Linked DNA regions of Homo sapiens: all the other regions are linked to region 4. Evidence: promoter capture Hi-C in human tissues and cell types (Jung and others, 2019). All regions are on one chromosome and are shown on one strand. The core of a region is centred on a gene start or on the middle of the fragment in contact, and the rest is flanking DNA. Distances in the headings are between cores, read along the strand shown.

Evidence for each region. Contacts are between HindIII fragments. The study calls those that stand out against the background at their distance.
Region 1: a fragment that was not itself captured here is called in contact with the fragment with the promoter of OGDHL in region 4 in 5 of the 25 tissues and cell types used here (H1 embryonic stem cells, bladder, pancreas and 2 more).
Region 2: a fragment that was not itself captured here is called in contact with the fragment with the promoter of OGDHL in region 4 in 3 of the 25 tissues and cell types used here (H1 embryonic stem cells, aorta and pancreas).
Region 3: a fragment that was not itself captured here is called in contact with the fragment with the promoter of OGDHL in region 4 in 2 of the 25 tissues and cell types used here (liver and mesendoderm cells).

What each region holds. Positions count from the first base shown.
Region 1 is chr10:49,694,683-49,697,382 of GRCh38, reverse strand. C10orf53 (chromosome 10 open reading frame 53) reads right to left here. Exons shown (of 3, transcript NM_001042427.3): 3 at 1-2,700. Among named protein-coding and RNA genes, the nearest start is that of C10orf53, 16 kb to the right of the region's middle. The HindIII fragment of the contact is 4,554 bases long and covers 1-2,700 here.
Region 2 is chr10:49,641,628-49,644,327 of GRCh38, reverse strand. The region is part of intron 7 of CHAT (choline O-acetyltransferase); the gene reads right to left. Among named protein-coding and RNA genes, the nearest start is that of CHAT, 29 kb to the right of the region's middle. The HindIII fragment of the contact is 6,718 bases long and covers 1-2,700 here.
Region 3 is chr10:49,828,874-49,831,573 of GRCh38, reverse strand. The region is part of intron 16 of PARG (poly(ADP-ribose) glycohydrolase); the gene reads left to right. Among named protein-coding and RNA genes, the nearest start is that of OGDHL, 68 kb to the right of the region's middle. RefSeq lists an enhancer at 1-665. The HindIII fragment of the contact is 3,975 bases long and covers 1-2,700 here.
Region 4 is chr10:49,761,033-49,763,732 of GRCh38, reverse strand. It overlaps OGDHL (oxoglutarate dehydrogenase L), which reads left to right and starts at 1,410. Exons shown (of 23, transcript NM_018245.3): 1 at 1,410-1,494. RefSeq lists a silencer at 1,450-1,659. The HindIII fragment of the contact is 26,824 bases long and covers 1-2,700 here.

The sequences.
Region 1 (2,700 bases), core at 14-2,513, 66 kb after region 4:
TTGATGGGGAGCAAGCTGTGTCTCTTGCTTCTGGGCAGGGAGGTGCGTGCTCGAGAGAGGGAGGCAAAGGAGGAGGATGACAGCACATTCTTCAGAGATTTCCATAGAGAAAGTTCCTCTTAATCAGTGACAGAGGAGGATAAGGCCATAGACAGGTGGCTTCTATGTCAAAATCTTTATTTTATTTTCTGAGACAGGGTCTCACTTTGTCACCCAGGCTGGAGTGCAGTGGCGTGATCTAGGTTCGCTGCAGCCTCTAGCTCCTGGGCTCAGGTGATCCTCCTGCCTCAGCCCCTCAAGTAGCTGGGACTACAGGTGCATGCCACCAGGCCTGGCTAATTTTTGTATTTTTTGTAGAGATGAGGCTTCACCATGTTGGCCAGGCTGCTCTCGAACTCCTGTGTTCAAACAAATCCACCCACCTTGGATTCCCAAAGTGCTGGGATTACAGGCAAAAGCCATAGTGCCCGGCCCTGATTTTAAGTTTTTATCTGAAAAGTACCCCTAACACACACTTACATACAAAGTGAAAATCAATTCCACCACTAAAAACATTTACAATACGGAAGGCAGAATAGCCCTGCAAACTTCCTCCCTCTACCTCACCTGCCCCCCACACCCCCCAATCCCACTGCTCAGAGGAAACCTCGGTGATTTTTCCCAGCAATGCTGATTCAGACATCATTTGCCTCTGATCCAAACTGAAACATAGGGCTCTGGGCACAGGCATCTCCCAGAAGCTTCTCCGGTATTTCTTAGAATCCGTGTACTGTCTCGCCTTACCTGCCCTTCAGCTCTGGTCATGAAGCCAAGGAGGGCAGGTCTTCTTCACTTGTAGTGCTACTCTGAAGGCACAAATACAACCTGCGGGGTTGAGGCGGATGCTGGAGGAGGGCATGGGGCTGCCGAGGGAAGCACTTGTTACCAGTTTAATGCCGGGGTTGCAGGGCTAGAGGAGACAGGATTCCACTGTGTTTGGAGATGAAGTTCCCACTCCAAATGCAGACAGGGGAAGCTAGCAATTTCAGTTCTCAGCATTGAAAAAGTTTTGGCCATGAAAGTAGAAATCACAGCTCAAGGGAGAGATTTCCTGATTCAAGATAAAATGCTCAGACAGTCAACAAATCATGCGGGAAGAGGCTCTATGTAAAATGTTACGTTTAAAAAAAGATTCAACATACCTGCCCATGTACCCCCTGTATCTAAAATAAAAGTTGAAAAATTTTTAAAAACTTACAAAATTGTGCATAAATCTCAAATGGATGAAGTCAATTTCTATATGTCTATCTCTTTATGAATATTCAGACATAAACAGAAGAAACCCAAATTGAAATATATAAAAATGTTACTAAAGTTGTACTTTATTTTTACCTGTATTTTTCCATTTTTCTTTAATGAGAATGGATTTCTCTTGTAGTAAAATGTTATATTGAAACAAAGATTGAATGCTACATCTATAGTAACTTAAACTGGGTTTTGAAAAAAAGGGACTAAATGTAGGGTTACAAAAGATATGTGAAAACCAGCACCAGACACTGGGAGGAAGAATCTCTTTTGAGCCTCAGTTTCTCAGTAAGGAGATGCTTAAATAGTTCCATAGAGTTCTAAGTGATTCACAATCCCTGAATCAACTCTGACAAGTGAAGCTTGGGCTGGGGTTTTAAAAATTATATCCCCTACTTTGTCCTGTGTGAGAAGGAACTTGTGCAAGCAGTTTCATGGTCCCCAGTGGTCTTTGAAGTTCTGGGGTGCAGGAGGGTTTGAGGCTGCCTGGGGCGATGGTTAGGACTGCTCTCAGAGCAGGTGAAGCCGCAGGTCTCTGAGCGATCCTGAAAGCCCTGCTCCTTCAGCACAGGTGCCCCGGGTCCAGAGTTTTCTGTTAGGGAATCTGGTTTTCTCCCCGTAGGTGTGAGGCCTTCTTACCATGACCTCCCATTTGACGTCATTAGATCAATATCTGCATTTCCCCCTCTCTGTTACTCTATAGTTAAGAATATATACTACACATTGGTGCGTAAGAGTGGAAAGTAAAAATATCATTTCGACATGACTGATTTTCACACTGAACATAGTGAAAACCCTCTTTAACTCTATGGGGCTGTGTTCTACTCCAGAGGGACCAGGGAACCATCTCACATTCTGCTGAGGACTCTTTTGCGCCCTCCTCAGACGATATTAATGCAAAAGAAGGCAGGTCATTTTCTTGTTTTAGATGAGAGAAATTGAAGATTTGATTTTGGCTAATTTTATAATAGCAATTTAAAATATTTATTCCCTCAGGAGTCAGAAATAAATCTGTAGGAATAGCAAGGTTTCCAAATATTAACATTTGCTTTTGGTTCAGACTTTCAAAAGCCTTTATTCCCACTCTTCCCCCAACCTCTCTTTAATTTCACCTGTTCTGAGCACTTTGAGTACTAAACAATGGAATCTCAGATGCTTCTGGCAACTATGTGTTATTAGTCAGGAATGGCACCTTGTTATTTGATTGCATTTTATTGTTTCCTTCAGCTCAATGTGTACCTGATATTGGAGGGCTCTCCCTATGGGTTGAGATTGAGACATGTTATAAATGATGTGGTTTTTATTATTTCTGTGGGCTCCTGTGCAGCCAGGTGACAATCCTGAGGCTGCGTAAGCTGGAGGTCAGGCCCGAGTTGCCCTGTTCTGACTAGCAGAGCCCAGTGTCCACACCGTGGC
Region 2 (2,700 bases), core at 189-2,688, 120 kb after region 4:
GGCACCGTGGGCTCCATGGCCACCTCCTTCCCACCCTAGATCCCTGCGTGGACCTCACAGACAACCTCCTGCCCCTCCCTGATCCTGTGGACATCCCATCTCCTCATCATCACGCAGGCTGTGCCCAGGACAAGGCCCTTCTCCTCCTCTGTCTATGACAGCCCTCCCTGAGCTCCCTCATCCTCTGGCAGTACCAGCCCTGCCCTGGAGGACTCCTAACACCCTGAGCACGTGGCCTCCACAGCTTGCTCAGTGCAGATGTGGAATTGCACTCTTGTCAGGCCAGCCTCACACAGCACCTGAGCCCAGAGGTGCCCCCCAATCCCTGACCACCAGCCCCTGCTGCACAGCACATGACCCCAATGCCATTCCCAGACCACCGTGCTTTGGACAGTCAGCACTTGCAGCCCCTGGACCCCTGGTCTGGTCCCCTCCCCCATATCAGCACTCACTGAGGGTGGGGCCTGGGCCTCCTGAACAAGGCAAGCACAGTCCATGCTGGGTAATGGACTTTAGTGTGCTTCCCTTGGCCTGGGCAAAGTAGGGCTGGGATCTGTGGACCCAGTTCAGACAGGGGGCCTGGAGGTGTCCAGCTGGCTAATGGGAAGGGGAAAGGCCATGTCCTTATGAAGGGCAAAACCCAACTACTTTTGAGGCTTTGAGCTTCATGAATTGATGGGGGAGTGGGGGTAGGGTGAGGCTGGGACAAGGTAGGGCTTCTTCCCCCTTGCAAGGCTCCCTGCTCTGCCCTTCTCCCCTCCTTAGGCATCCCTGCAGATGGCCATAGTGCTCGCCCTGCACTATGTGCTGTGCTACTGGTCCCTGCAGGCTCAGGCTAGCCAGTGCCTTCAGAGCCCCGGGGAGGCCTTGGCCAGGTCTGGGTCAGGTTCAGATCAGCAAAGAAGAAGGGAGAGGCATGCCAGGAGGTGTATAGTAGTGCAGGGTGGTGGATGGAGGGTGGGACAGTGGTTTGGATGGCCGGAGAACAGATCCCCAGGCTTGTAAGCAGAGCTTGTGAGTGATCGGCTTGACCTCCAGCTTATGGGTGAGGGCATGCAGGATTTAGGTGGGGCTGGAAGAACATAATGATGTGATGCTATTAGCTAACCTTTGTTGAGCACCTACTATGTGCCAAATATCAATCTAAACATGCATATTGATGCATATAAGATAGGTATCATTGTCATGCCTCATTTACAGGTCAGGACCAGAGAAACCAAATATCTTGACCTTAGGCCATTTACAAGGTTTCTCTTGTAAACACGGATGATAATAATCATCCACTAAGTGGAGGGAGCTGGGTTTGATCTCAGGCATCCAACCCCAGTGCTCAGGTTCATCAACAAGGGCTATGAATGCCCAGCTCAGTCATGTGACTTCAGCCAGCAACAACAGGGAGTGCTGAAGGATCATGGAAGAGCTCAGTGTGGTCAGAGCAGAGTCTAGGATACCTGGCAGCTTGGGAAAGGCATGGGCCTGAAGGCCAGCCAAGCCGGGGCCATAGGCAGCTTGAATGCTGTACACCTCATTCCTGTTGGCCATACCTCAGGGTGAACTCTGAGAGCCCTGGCTTAGTAGCTGCCTTCACTAAGCGATCCTTAAAAACAGCCCCAAAGCCAGTGTGGAGTGGGCAGACTGCAGCTCCTGAGGCAGCCCACAGCATGCCTGCTCAGTCAGGAGGCTGAGAGCAGGCCTTGATGCAGGCTCGAGGCAGGAGAGTGGAGGCCTGGCACACTCCTTTTTAACTGGGCAATGCAAGGCTGGCAGCAGGAAAGAATGGCTCCCTGGGCATCACTGCCCTTGTCACCTCCAGGCAGGGGAGGCAGATTGTGAGGAGGCACTGAGGCCTTGCCATCATGTGCAGGCTCTGCAGGGCCCAGGAGCCCAGCGCTGCCCAACAGGAACCAGGTCCTGGCTCATTAGACAGGGTAAAATGGGAGCAGGACAACAGAGCGGGGAGCCAGGTGGCCTTGCAAATGAACTCCCTGCATATAAGTAGCTGATCAGTCAAATGCTGACAAGTTTATCATGTAAGGCAGAAAATGAGCACTACACCCAAGCTCATCCACCATGACTGTGGCCCAAATGTAATGGAAACATGGGACAACGGGCTGAAGGCGCACGGCAGGAGCCATTTGTCTTGTGGCATCCTCATCGAGCACATCGAGGCTCCTTTAAAGTGGCGAATCAATCTTCCTCAAGGAGCCCGGCGTAATAGTGAGAGGTGGGGATTGAGTAATAGGAGGAGCCTGCTCTGACACCCATGCCCAAGGAGGGAGCTGACAGCTTTGGTAGTGTGGAAATTCCAGAGGCCAGGAGGCCTCGGGGAGCCCTGAGGCTGGCATTAGAGGTTGGAAGCTTACAGGCTGAGACTCTGATGAGCACAGACAAAATAGCACCTGGTATCTCTCTCTGTGCAGGGCTGCAAGACTCAGGAGATGTTCTTTAATGTGCACTACTGTGCACAAGTACCCCCGGACATATACCACCCTCTTTGGGACACTTGCCTTTGCTTGCTCTGATCTATTCCCTGAGAAGTTAGCACAAGTCAGATTTCTATGCCATGCCCATCCCCCTTCTCACAGTCCAGGAGATGGATGAACTGGGATCTTTCTCAGGGGCTTAGACCTTCTTAACCTTTCCCAATCCTATCTCAGCATCTTTCCTCCCCTGATGAAGGAGTACTTTTTTCTTTTGGGA
Region 3 (2,700 bases), core at 80-2,579, 68 kb before region 4:
GATTGAGCTCGGTCTCTGCCCTCCCCTGACTCCCGGATGTGCAATCTGAATCGCCTCATTAGCAGAACAAAGGCACCAGCACTCAGGAAATTCCAAGGGTGTTTGAAGCTTTTACCAGGAACCCAAGATGGCACACCAGAAAAATTCTTTTTTATACCACAGTTACAAAGTAACAAGCAATAAAGCAGACATAAAACAGCCAGCTGGCCTTAATAGCTGAACTATATTTAGATAAAATTCATCTCTTTGAGAATACTTGAGTCTGTCATAATGTAACTGCCTTTCCCCTCATCAGTAAAATGCTTCTTAATATTTTTATAAAAATGACACATTTATTATTTTTTTTTAATCTAGAAAAATACCATGAAGTATATAAAAATCACTAGAATTCACTGTCAGCATTTGGTGACCATTCTTCAGGTCATCTCAGTAGCAATGTATGTAACTTGATGAAGTGACACCCTCTATTCTATTCTCCAGCCTCCTCCTTTTAGAAAGTCTGCAGTCTCATGGATAGTTTTCAACTATCCATCTAACAAATGTAGATCTACTGAGTACTCAGCATTTGTTAGTGGCTACACAGTATTCTGTTGTATGCACATATGTACCATAATTTATTTCACAGATTCTCCATTCAGAGTTTGTTTTCATTATATTATAAGGAGTACTACAGTGTGTAGTACAATTATATATATTATGTGTAATTATCTTCTTAAGGTAAATTCCTAGAGGTGAGATTAATGACTCAAAGAATACGTATACTTCATTTTGATCCTTGTAGATTTCACTCTGAAAGGTGATATCAATTCACATTGTCTTCCTCACATGAACAGCATCACCAAGACAGGACTTTGTTACTATTTTTCATTTCTCTAAGGTTCAACAGTTTTCGTGTTTATTGGCCATTTGTTTGTTTTGTGAATTGCTTTTTCATGCCTTCTGCCCATTCATCTCTTTGGGAGTAGTTTGATTTTATCACTGGCTAGTAATAACTCTTTGTATATTAAAAAATATTAATTGTTTAACTGTTACATGTTATAAACATTTTTCTGCTTCTTCATTTATTTCAACCGATCAGGCTGAAGTTACTGAGTTAGCTTTTATGTGTTCACATTTTTGTGGTGTGCTTATAAAGATGTTTCCTGTCCCTTTATGCTAAAGACTTTCACCTACATTTTCTTCAAATTCAAAGACAAAAACTGCATGGTGCTATTTTCGGTGTTTGAGGAAACCTATTTTTCACTCTGGGCTTATTGATCTTACGACAGATACTTTTTTCCTGTCTTTCTCTTAAGTAAAATGAATGACTAGATTCAAGTCATCAATCCAGAAGCTAGGTCTGCTGTAAGCCGTGGTCATTTGTGATAGACAGTTTGGAAAGCTTTATAAATGTGTTCACTTCTTTTCCTTTTTTCTTTTTTTCTGGCTTAAAAGCCTTTCAGACTGCAGCTGTGCTTGCTCTGGTGACTATCAAGCATAGTAGTCTAAGATTTCCATTATATAATTCATTTCCTCAACTATTGAGATTTAAATTTTGGAGTAACTGACATTTCCCTCCCCTTCATTAGCATAAATATTCATTAAAAATTTAGAATGAGTCATAAAGTCCTTCAATGGGGAATTGGTTACTAAACTATGATGCTAAAAAAAAAAGAAATTATGGTACATTTATGCAATAAAATATTATGCTTCCTTTAAAAACCATTATAGAAATGTGTCTGCTGACAGGGAAAGATGGTTTTGGAATATTGACAAATGGGAGAAATACCCAATGTATGCCATATAAACCATTTTAAAATTAAATTGTGAATATAAAATATCACACACAAATTTGCAGTTCTCTATGTTCATCTGTTTACGTGCCAGGATTAACTATGGTTGTTCTCTAGTGGGTGATAGTCTTTGTTTTGTTTTGTTGGGGGTTTTTTCATTTTTTATTTTTAGTAGAGATGGGGTTTCACTATGTTGCCTAGGCTGGTGTTGTGATTACACTTGTGAGCCACCACACTTGGTCAGTGATGTTTTATACTTTATTTTTAATCTGCATCTTTTTTATTGTGAGCATATATTGTTTTTGTAACAAAAAAATCTTATAAAAAATGTTCATGGTGGGTAACATGGGCAGGTATAAATCCTTAAACTTGTATTTCTTTAATTATTAATAGAAATAAGGCTAAGCTGAGCACAATGGTATGCGCCTATAGTCCCAGCTACTTGGGAGGCTGAGGTGGGAGGAATGTTTGAGCCCTGAAGTTCAAGGTCAGCCTAGTAAGACCACATCTCTTACAAAAAAAGAAAATTACAAAAGAAAGAAGGCAAATTTTTTTTTTTTTATTTTGAGACGGAGTCTTGCACTGTCGCCCAGGCTGGAATGCAGTGGCACTATCTCGACTCACTGCAACCTCCACCTCCTGAGTTCAAGCAATTCTCCTCCCTCAGCCTCCCGAGTGGCTGGGATTACAGGTGCCTGCCACCACGCCCAGCTAATTTTTTGTATTTTTAGCAGAGACAGGGTCTCACCATGTTGGCCAAGCTGGTCTCGAACTCCTGACCTAATGATTCACCTGCCTCAGCTTCCACAGTGCTGGGATTACAGGCATGAGCCACCGTGCCCGGCTGGCAAAATATTTTTAACATGCTTGTTACTTAATTGTACATGAGTTTTGTGTTTTACCACAATTAGTTGTTTGTTTTTGTAAG
Region 4 (2,700 bases), core at 161-2,660:
TCCGTCTCTACTGCAAGTACATTACTGCCTCTCACCCGGAATTTGAATTTTGAAAAACAGAAGAGCCTTGAAGAGACAGTTCCTCTATGGCTCAGCCCTGCTTCCTGAAGTAAATTTTCAGCTTTCCTCTGATTCTGTGAGTTGCCTTATATACAACCTTCATATCAACTCGTTTTCGGCTGAAGCTAGCCAGGTCATTTTTGGTGCTTGTGTCCAAAGAATTCCCAATGAACCCTGCCCTTCTGCACCAGATAAAATCTTACTCATCCTTCAGGATCCAAGTCAAGTGTCCATTTACTCACTCAGTCATTCATTCAACAAATATTTACTGAAAAATACCATGATAGTGCTGTGTTAAGTGCTGAAGATTCTTGACCACATGTATCCCTAACTGTCTCCAAATAAAGAACTTTTGGGAGACTTCAGGTGCAGAAGTTAGTTGTATTCCTTTCTTCGTGGCACTCTGTCAGCAGTGATCTGGGTAATTGATTAATTACCTCATATCCACATTCCCCATCCTCCTCCCTCGACAAGCAACCATATTAATTGGTTTGATATGTACTTGAATATATTCTTGTGAAGTGCATACTGTAGTTTTGAGATTAAAATTCAAGAGTGTAAGTGTAGAAGCAGAGAAGCCAGTTAGGAGGCTGCTGCGATAATCCAGGAGAGATTTGATGGCAACTTGAACCACAGGTATGTTATGTTCCTATACAAGAAATCCCTGCATTTAAATGAGAACAAAACCCAACAGAAAGCTGAAAAAAATACAACAGAAAACCCCAAACTAACAAACAACGGGAGATGCAAATGGTTGATAACCAGAGAAATGCAGATTAAAACAATAACAGGACATTGCATCTGCTATTCTGATAATAATTAGAAAGTTGATCTCTATCCCAGAGAAAGTTCCACGCAGGATCCTAAGGGAATGTGTATGAAGAAGTTCATTGCAGCCTTGTTTGTGGCCACGGGGTGGTGAGGACAGCCTGGGTCACCATCAGTGGGAGGATGAATGGGTAAAATGTGTATCAGATTTGGGGTAAGCACTTTTCACGCATTATCTCATCTTTTTTTCAAAACATCCCTAAGATAGTGGAACTTTTCATAGCATTCCCATTTTACAGACGACAAAACAAAACCTATCCTCTCCTACACACAAAGGCTGCTTGTCGTCTGGTACATTCGTCCTAGTTTTAGGACGAGCACACGGGGTTCAGGGCCTCAGCCCCGTTCTGCGGTCTCAGAGAGGAGTCCCCCCTTCGGCCGTGGGCGACCTCGGGCCTGGGCCGCCAGCACCGTGGACAGCGCCAGGAGCGGGGCGGGGCATCCATGGAGACGTCACGACGCGCGGAGTCTCAGGGGCGCGCGCCCGTGGGCGGCTGCGTCACGTGACCCAGGTAATTGGCACGGCGCGCGCGCACCCCTTCCGCGCAGCCCCCTGACCTGCAGCCTCCGGACCTCGCTGCAGCGCGGACCCGGCCCGCCCGCCCGGTGAGCGCGGCGGCCCGCCCCCTCCCGGTCCCTGCGCCGCTGCTTCTCCTGCCGTCCTGGGGACCGGCCCCACAGCTCCTCTCTCCTGGGTCCTGGGGCGCCGCTGCCCGCAGCCCTGAGTCTGGCCCCGCCGGGGGGAGGGGGAGGAGGAACAGACTGTGACCTTGGCTCTGACCTTGGCTGGCCGTGGCCTCCCCCGGGACCCCCAGCCCATCGCGCGCGTACCACCCGGCTAGTCCAGGGTCCTGCGCAGAGGAGCGGGTGCTCGCGGTGGGTTTCTCCAGCCCGAGGACTTCAGACTGCCCCGCGCCTTCCGTGGCCAGGGGAGGGCCCGGAGCTGCGAGGGCTGTGCGGGGGATGGGGAGGGTCAGCGCTGTGCACCTGGCGGGACCCATAGGCAGCTTCGGACTACCAAGGAGCCTAATAGACGGTTTTAACCGCGGTCTCCGATTACAGATGAGAAAACTGAGGCCTGAGAGAGGGCGGCATGGCCTGAGGTCGCTGCTTGCATGGGATGCGCTTCTTCCGCCCCCCGGGAGATGTGGGAGGGGGACGGGGTAATCCCGAGGCCACAGCAGGCTGCAGTACGCATTCGCCGAACCGGAGAGACCCTTTGACGCCCCTCGGCCACCTGGCTCAAGCAGGCCCTAGCAGCCCCTCCCCAGTGTCTTGGAACAGGCCCCAACTAAATAGAATTGCGGTTTGTTGCTGAGCAAAAGCTCATCTGCTTCTCAGAAAGTGGGGTCAGAGTAGACCTGCTGCTGAGAGAATCCAGGCTCTGCTGCTGCCCAGCTTGGAGGGCCCTCTGGGGAGAACCCTTCCCGGCCTCTGTTTACTGATCTCTGCAATGGGTGCATTAGGGAGTAGTCCTCACTAGGGCACCCCAGACAGGGTTGTGTGTGTGGGAGTCTTAGTGGCCATGGTGTCGGCAGTTTTCTGGGGTTGGGTTGAGGTTCTGAGGTTGGGTTGGGGATGCTATGTGACCTTGTCCTCAGAGAAGAGACCCCCAAGAGATACCCAGGGCAACTCTGCTGGAGTCTGGACTGGGCAGGGGGTTGCACAGGGCACCTGACTCTCACTCCTTGTTGCTGTCCTTGACTGTATGGGCAGGAACTAGTAGGGCTGGCTTGGGCTCTGGCTCTAGATACTGAGCCCTCATGCCCTGCTGGGATGCAGGTGGGGGTGGGTGGCAGGCTGCCCTCCTGC